Linked DNA regions of Homo sapiens: region 2 is linked to region 1. Evidence: promoter capture Hi-C in human tissues and cell types (Jung and others, 2019). All regions are on one chromosome and are shown on one strand. Each heading gives the region's core, a stretch centred on a gene start or on the middle of the fragment in contact. The rest is flanking DNA. Distances are from core to core; before and after follow the strand shown. Region 1 holds the start of CHST12 (carbohydrate sulfotransferase 12). Region 2 overlaps MAD1L1 (mitotic arrest deficient 1 like 1).

What was found. Contacts are between HindIII fragments. The study calls those that stand out against the background at their distance.
Region 2: a fragment that was not itself captured here is called in contact with the fragment with the promoter of CHST12 in region 1 in 1 of the 25 tissues and cell types used here (dorsolateral prefrontal cortex).

The regions. Positions count from the first base shown.
Region 1 is chr7:2,401,953-2,405,317 of GRCh38, reverse strand. CHST12 (carbohydrate sulfotransferase 12) reads right to left here and starts at 1,707. Exons shown (of 2, transcript NM_018641.5): 1 at 1,645-1,707. RefSeq lists silencers at 1,411-1,580, 1,671-2,040 and an enhancer at 2,131-2,230. The HindIII fragment of the contact is 33,157 bases long and covers 1-3,365 here.
Region 2 is chr7:2,031,323-2,034,687 of GRCh38, reverse strand. All of the region lies in intron 12 of MAD1L1 (mitotic arrest deficient 1 like 1), which reads left to right. Among named protein-coding and RNA genes, the nearest start is that of SNORA114, 56 kb to the left of the region's middle. RefSeq lists enhancers at 1,233-1,912, 2,595-3,276. The HindIII fragment of the contact is 6,845 bases long and covers 1-3,365 here.

The sequences.
Region 1 (3,365 bases), core at 458-2,957:
GTGCACCACCACGCCCAGCTAAATTTTGTATTTTTAGTAGAGATGGGGTTTCACCATGTTGGCCAGGCTGGTCTCGGACTCCTGACCTCAGGTGATCCGCCCGCCTCTGCCTCCCAAAGTGCTGGGATTACAGTCACGAGCCACCTCGCCCGGCCTTCCAGTCTTAGCTTCCAACCCAATCCTCAAACCCCACTTCATCAAGAACACGGCGACCCACCATCTCCCCCAAACATCACTTTCACTTCCACATCTCTGCATGCCCTTTGCCTCCAAACGCCCCAATTCATAGGTCCTCTCCACTGTGGAAAATGTCGGAAAATGTCGCCACATTCTGTTAACGCCTGCACCACAGTCTCAACTCCACACAGTTGTAGCCAGGCTGGCCGTGAGCTCCCAGGGCAAGGCCCACGCTATTACCGGCATCTACCCCAGCTTAGCATCTTGCACTCGATTGGAGGTTTGATAATAAAGCTGGAGTCAGCTGAGTGACAGCAGACAGTTACTGCTGGCCCCAAAGCGTCAGCCCAAAGTCCCATAAACTCCTTTGCAGGGAAATCAAACATCTATGCCATTCCAGGCAGGTGCTCTTTCAGATCTCAAGCGTTGCACCTTCGTGTAGCAATCTCCTCATTACCCCTGTTTTCTCTCCATCCTCACTCAGACACCAGCCCTGACTCCCAACACCAGATGCTCACGGTGAGGGGCTAACCCGGGTCCCCGCGTGGGGGTAAGTGGGGGACCCGCTGAGCTGTCCCCAACCACCCACAGCCGGGAACAGCACCGTAGGGCCTGGTGTCCTGGAAGATGTACTGCGTCCAGCACCGCGCCTGCAACTCACATTCCTATTCACCCCGGGGCTTCCGAGTCCCCACAGCCCCGCTTATGAACTAAATAATTTAATAATGCTGGAAACACTATGGCTTGTTGTGCTGCCTGCCAGACGGAGCCTCTGCCCGAGCCAAGGCTTTGCCGGCGGTGTCTCGGTGGCCGGGAGCCCGCAGAGGAGGTCTAAGTCCCACTGTTCCCGGACTAAATGCACGGTTTCCTCTCCCAGAGGGGCAGGGCTGCGGCTTCTGGAGTGAGAGGTCATTTAAGGGATACCCTGAGCGACCTGCCGGTGCTGCTGGCGTCTGCAGGCTCCAGGGCTGCGGTCGGCGGGGCCGGGGAGCCCCGTTCAGGTGACAGCAGGCACACGGGGGCCCTCGGGAGCTGGGGATCCTGGAACTCCAAGCCCGGGAATTGGTCCTACCCCTGCCGGGCGGCAGAGGCTGATGCCGGGCAGGGGGACTCCTGGGGGCCGGCGGGGCCGCTGCAGCCTCTGCTGTCGCTGAATCAGAACCACAGATTTCTCGTCCAGACCCCGAGGAGCCGCAGAACGCGCTGATCAGGGCCCCAGGGCTGGGTCCCCCTGGCCGAGGACGACGAGCGGGGCTCAGAGAGGGCGCGCGCAGGGCCAAGGTCACACTGCGCGCCGGCGCGGGAACTCGAACCCAGGCCCAAGCCGCGCCCGCCAGGCCAGGTTAAGGAGAGCCGACCCGCGCCCCTCAGCGCGGCCCGGGACCCCCGCCCGGGCCCTGGGAGCCCAGCACTGGCCGAGAGAGAGGGAGACCGCGCCCCGAGCCCGCCGCCCGCCGCGCCCCTCACCTCGCGACCCTCACCTCGCGCCCCTCACCTCGCGCCCGCAGCCGCCGCCGCCGCCCCGCGACTAGCGGACCCCCCAGAGGCAGCCCTCGCCGGCCCCGCCCCCGGCGCAGGAGCCCCTCCTACCGGTCGTCTTCTCGCGAGACGTCGCGGCCGCCGGAGGGGCCACGGAGGCCGAGGGGCGCCCGCCCTCAGCGCGCCTGCGCCCGGCCAGCCCGCCCGCCCCCGCCCTCGCGAGCCAGTGCCATGTGGCGCCGTATTTACGGCCAGAGATCGACTCCGCCCACCGGCCGCCACGAGCCACGCCCCTTTCTCAGCAGCCAATCCGCGGCGTTGACTCCGCCCCGGCGGACCGGGCGCGCGGCGGCTCGGGGACGCGCAGCTGTCTCGCCGTTCGACCCGGGAGCTCCACGTTGCAGCCAAACACGATCCCGTTAACCAACCTTTATGCAGTGCCTGTTGTCTATCCGACCCTTTCTCGAGCATCGGCTCATTGGCAAAGGATCGTGATGCTCACCGGCTGGGGCTTGAGACTCGCTGTGTGACCTTGGGCAAGTGACTTAACCTCTCTGAGGTTGTCGCCAATCCGTAAAATATAATAGGTTAGTGACCCTACCTTTCAGGGAGTATGTGAGACAAACGAGATGACACGGGTAAAGAGCTTAGCAAGATGCCTAATGCATAGTGAGCATGCAGTAATTGTTCTTGGCATCAATGTAGTTTTGTGTGTTTGTTTGTTTATTTTTTTAGAGACAGGATCTCACCGTGTCGTCCAGGATGGGGTGCAGCGGTGCAGTCACAGCTCACTGCAGCCTCGACCTCCTGGGTTCAAGCCATCCTCCCACCTCAGCCTCCCAAGTAGATGGAACTACAGACAGGTGCCACCACACCCGGCTAATTTTTAATTTTTAATAGAAACGGGGGTCTCACTATGTTGCCCAGGGTGGTCTTGAACCCCTAGACTCAAGCAATCCTCCTGCCTCAGCCTCCCAGAGCTCTGGGATTACAGGCGTGAGCCACCGCGCCAGGCCCAGTCATTTTTTTTTTAAATTATGGTAAAATATATAGAACATAAAATTTACCATCTTAACCTTTGTTGTTGTTGTTGTTGTTGTTGTTGTCGTTGTTGTTGTTGTTGAGACAGAGTCTCGCTCTGTCGCCCAGGCTGGAATACAGTGGCCCGATCTCGGCTCACTGCAAGCTCCGCCTCCCGGGTTCACGCCATTCTCCTGCCTCAGCCTCCCGGGTAGCTGGGACTTACAGGCGCCCGCCACCACGCCCGGCTAATTTTTTGTATTTTTAGTAGAGACGGGGTTTCACCGTGTTAGCCAGGATGGTCTCGAACTCCTGACCTCGTGATCCGCCCGCCTCGGCCTCCCAAAGTGCTGGGATTACAGGCGTGAGCCGCCGCGCCCGGCCCATCTTAACCATTTTTAAGCACTCCCTGCAGTGGCATTAAGCACTTTCACATCCCCACCATCCACCCCAAGAACTTTTTCAATCCGTGATATTTTTAGTTGGCCCCCTCCGATGGACTCCCGAGGCAGCCTTCCAACCAAGGTCATCTCTTCACTCTTCCACTCCCTGCAGCCAGTCCCAAAGGAGTTCCGAACCCACCGGGCCCTGGAAATGTGGAAGTGAGGGAGACGGGCAAGGCCCCTGCCCTCCTGTATTCTAGTGGGGGGGAAAAGCAACAAACAACCACCACAAAATATATGTGTATA
Region 2 (3,365 bases), core at 561-3,060, 370 kb after region 1:
GGAGGCAGCCGAGTGTGGGGACTGCTGTGGCAGAGCTGGCAGCCTTGTGTGCTTCCTGCACTTGTGACATTTTATTGCAGCCAGTGCCTGTGCCATTAAGCATTCCTTGAAAATAAAATCTTTTTTGGCTGTACGATGTTTCTTCGTGTAGACATACCAAAAGTAAACTCTTGGCCGGCTGCGGTGGCTCATGCCTGTAATCCTAGCACTTTGGGAGGCTGAGACGGGTGGATTGCCTGAGCTCAGGAGTTCGGACCAGCCTGGGCAACACGGTGAAACCCCGTCTCTACTAAAATACAAAAAATTAGCTGGGCGTGGTGGTGTGTGCCTGTAGTCCCACCTACTCAGGAGGCTGAGGCAGGAGAATCGCTTGAACCCGGGAGACAAAGGTTGCTGTGAGCCTAGATCACACCATTGCACTCCAGCCTGGGCGACAGCGAGACTCCGTCTCCAAAAAAAAAAAAAAGGAGACTCTTTATTGGAAATTTAGCTTTGTTTTTAATTTTTTCATGATTATTGCTAATGTGTGCAACATCCTTGGACTCAGTGCTTTCCCCATATCTGATTCATTTGTTATTTATTTATTTGTTTAGACACAGGGTCTTGCTCTGTCGCCCAGGCTGCAATGTGGTGGCGCCATCTTGGCTCACTGCAGTCTTGAACTCCAGGGCTCAATATATCCTCCTGCCTGAGCCTCCCCAGTAGCTGGGACTATAGGTGCATGCCGCCCCGCCTGGCTAATTAAAAAAAAATTTTTTTTGTAGAGATGGGGTCTCACTATGTTGCCCAGGCTGGTCTCAGGTGATTCTCCTGCCTCGGCCTCTCACAGTGCTGGGATTGCAGGTGTGAGCCACCGCAGTCTGATTACTTTTTAGGCAATTGTTACTGAGTGGAAGGGTGTGAACACCTTCAGGACCCTTGGCCAGTTTTGCTGACTCGTTTTCCAGAAGCGCCCGTGACTGCTGTCCCAGCAGGTGTAGCGTGCAGCCCTCATGGCCTCACTCGTGCTGAGTGTTAGCATTTTACTTCTTGCCACTCCAGGTGAGGAACGGGTCTTAATGAATTTTGTGTTTGTCAGTTACGTTTCTTCTGTTGATTGTTGATTTTTCCCAGTTTTCTATTACCGTGTTAGTGATTTTCCTATTGATTTGTAAAAGGTTTTCATGTATTTGTGGCACGTTTTCCCCAGTTTGTCTTTTACCTTTTGTGTTTTTAAGTGGCGTTTTGGGACCCACGGAGGTGTTGGTGTGGCGAAGCGTGCTGGTCTTTCTCTGTCATTCCTTCCACTGCTTCGGGGCCCACAGCCTTTCAGGGCCTTGCTCCATGGAGTATCCATCTTGTTTCCTTTAGTTCTAGTGCAGTGAAGCAGGCGAGGGCAGGGGTGACCGGGTCATCTGGGCTGGTTCAAACTGGGGCTCCGCACCCAGGTGTTCTGTGCCCCCGGGGTGCGTTACTCACACCTGCAGCACCCGGGCTGTCTCTGTGAGAATGGGATGATCGAAGGGCCCACCTCCTGGCCAGCACAGGGCCTGGCACGTGGTGCCTGGCTGGCGAGTGTATGAGTGGGGTGCTGGGCTGGGAGCGTGAGCTCTCGGAGTTCTGCGTCTGTTTATCATGGCCAGTCAGTGGCAGCGTCAGCTGGGTGTCCTCAGCCCACGCTGCTGTACCCCAAGAAGGCAGTAGACACGTGATACCAGTGGGCTGGGGGCATCTTCTCAGCTGGTGCCCTCTCCACGTCCTTCTGCGGGGGCGCCTTGCCCCCCTGCCCCATGCACACTCTCCCTGTGTGCAGAGTGGGTCTTCCTTCCTGGTGTGGGGCTCCCTGAGTGCCCTGCCTGTCCTCGCCTGTTCTTACAGTGCTCACGTCTGCCTCCCTCTCCAGGCTGAGTTCTGGGAGAGCAGGCCGGCGCCACCCCCCTCACCACTTGCTAGGAGCTGGCCTGACCCTGGTGGGAGCCCACAGCCCTGGGCGCGAATTCAAAATGCCAGAAGCAGCACAGGGTCCCTCGAGCCTGGTGGGAGGTACTTCCCATGGGCGAGTCATCTTGTTTTGAATTCTCCTCATGCTGATTTCTGGCCCCACTCAGCCCAGCACAGCTCTGAAGGAGACGAAGGCAAGGCCAGCTCTCCCCAGCTGAGATGAGCTTTCAGTTGAGGAAGGACCCTGATGTCAGAGCTGTTTGGGTAATGGCCTGCCCCTGGCCATGGATGTGCACCAAATCTTTTCAGGACTCGTGGGGTCACTGCTGCCCGGGGGCTTTAGGTAGCTATTAGAGCCCAGGGCTGGGCAAGCGCTTTCCCACCTGCCCGTTAGCATGATGGCCAAGAGCCCAGGCTCGGCTTCACGGAGGCTGGAGACCTGGGGCGCGCGCCTTCCCCTGGAGCCTTGTCCTCATCTGAAAGGGAGGACTCCAGCCTGCCTCAGGAGGTGGTTCCGAGGACTGATTGGCTGATGGTTTCACTCGTTCATTTTTTAATTGAACACACAGTTCCTGAGCACCTGTTCTGTTCCAGGCACTGGACAGGGACTGGGGCCGGGCGTCCCGCATGAATGAGGGGTCAGGGAGCTGATGCATGGAAACTCCTTGGCACAAGGCCCGGAGTGTGCCTGGCACCCTGGGCACTGGCTGCCTGCCTGTTACCCGTCGGTGGAGAAAGCCACCTAGACTTTGCAGCACTGTAAGATTTTTGAACTGTAGAAGACCAAGTCCATCTAATTCCCTGTTTTGCTGATAGGAACGCTGGAGGCCTAGAGAGGAAAGGAACCCGTCTGACTGCTCAGGCTGAGTAGTGGCCCCAGAGCCGTGACTCCACTGTGCTGTCTGTTTCCCACGTTGCCCTGCTCTCCTTTCTCCCTGTCCTGTCAAATAAACTGCACTCAAAATAGAGCCATGCGGCACAGGGCCTGTCTCAGGCCCATGGCCCCATATCCGCGTGGGTCAGGCATGCTGGCGAGACCTTGCGAGGGTCACGTCCTCCTCCCTGGTGAGGGGCCGTCTGCAGCCACTGTGGCTTGGGTATGGCTTCCTGTCAGGATGGTCCCAGTGCCCTCCCAGATGTGCACGGCACCCACGTCGTCATAGCGCAGGTGTGAGCAGCTGCTGTAACAAGGCTGGTGCTGGTTCAGGTGGATGCTGGGGAATGCATTTATACAGCGAACACAAATGAAGTGGAATTTGTCATAGAGCAGTGTGAAATGTAAGTAAAATTGCCTCGGGAAATCATAATTGATTCCACTCCTTCCTACAATAGGTGTTGTAGAGCTTTTTATCAGAGGTTGAAATTGTAAAAACCAGGCTTGCTGGTGGGGAGCCCAGAACAGCCCCTTTTCCCCCTCCCCCACAGCTACACGTGGGTGGTGGAGG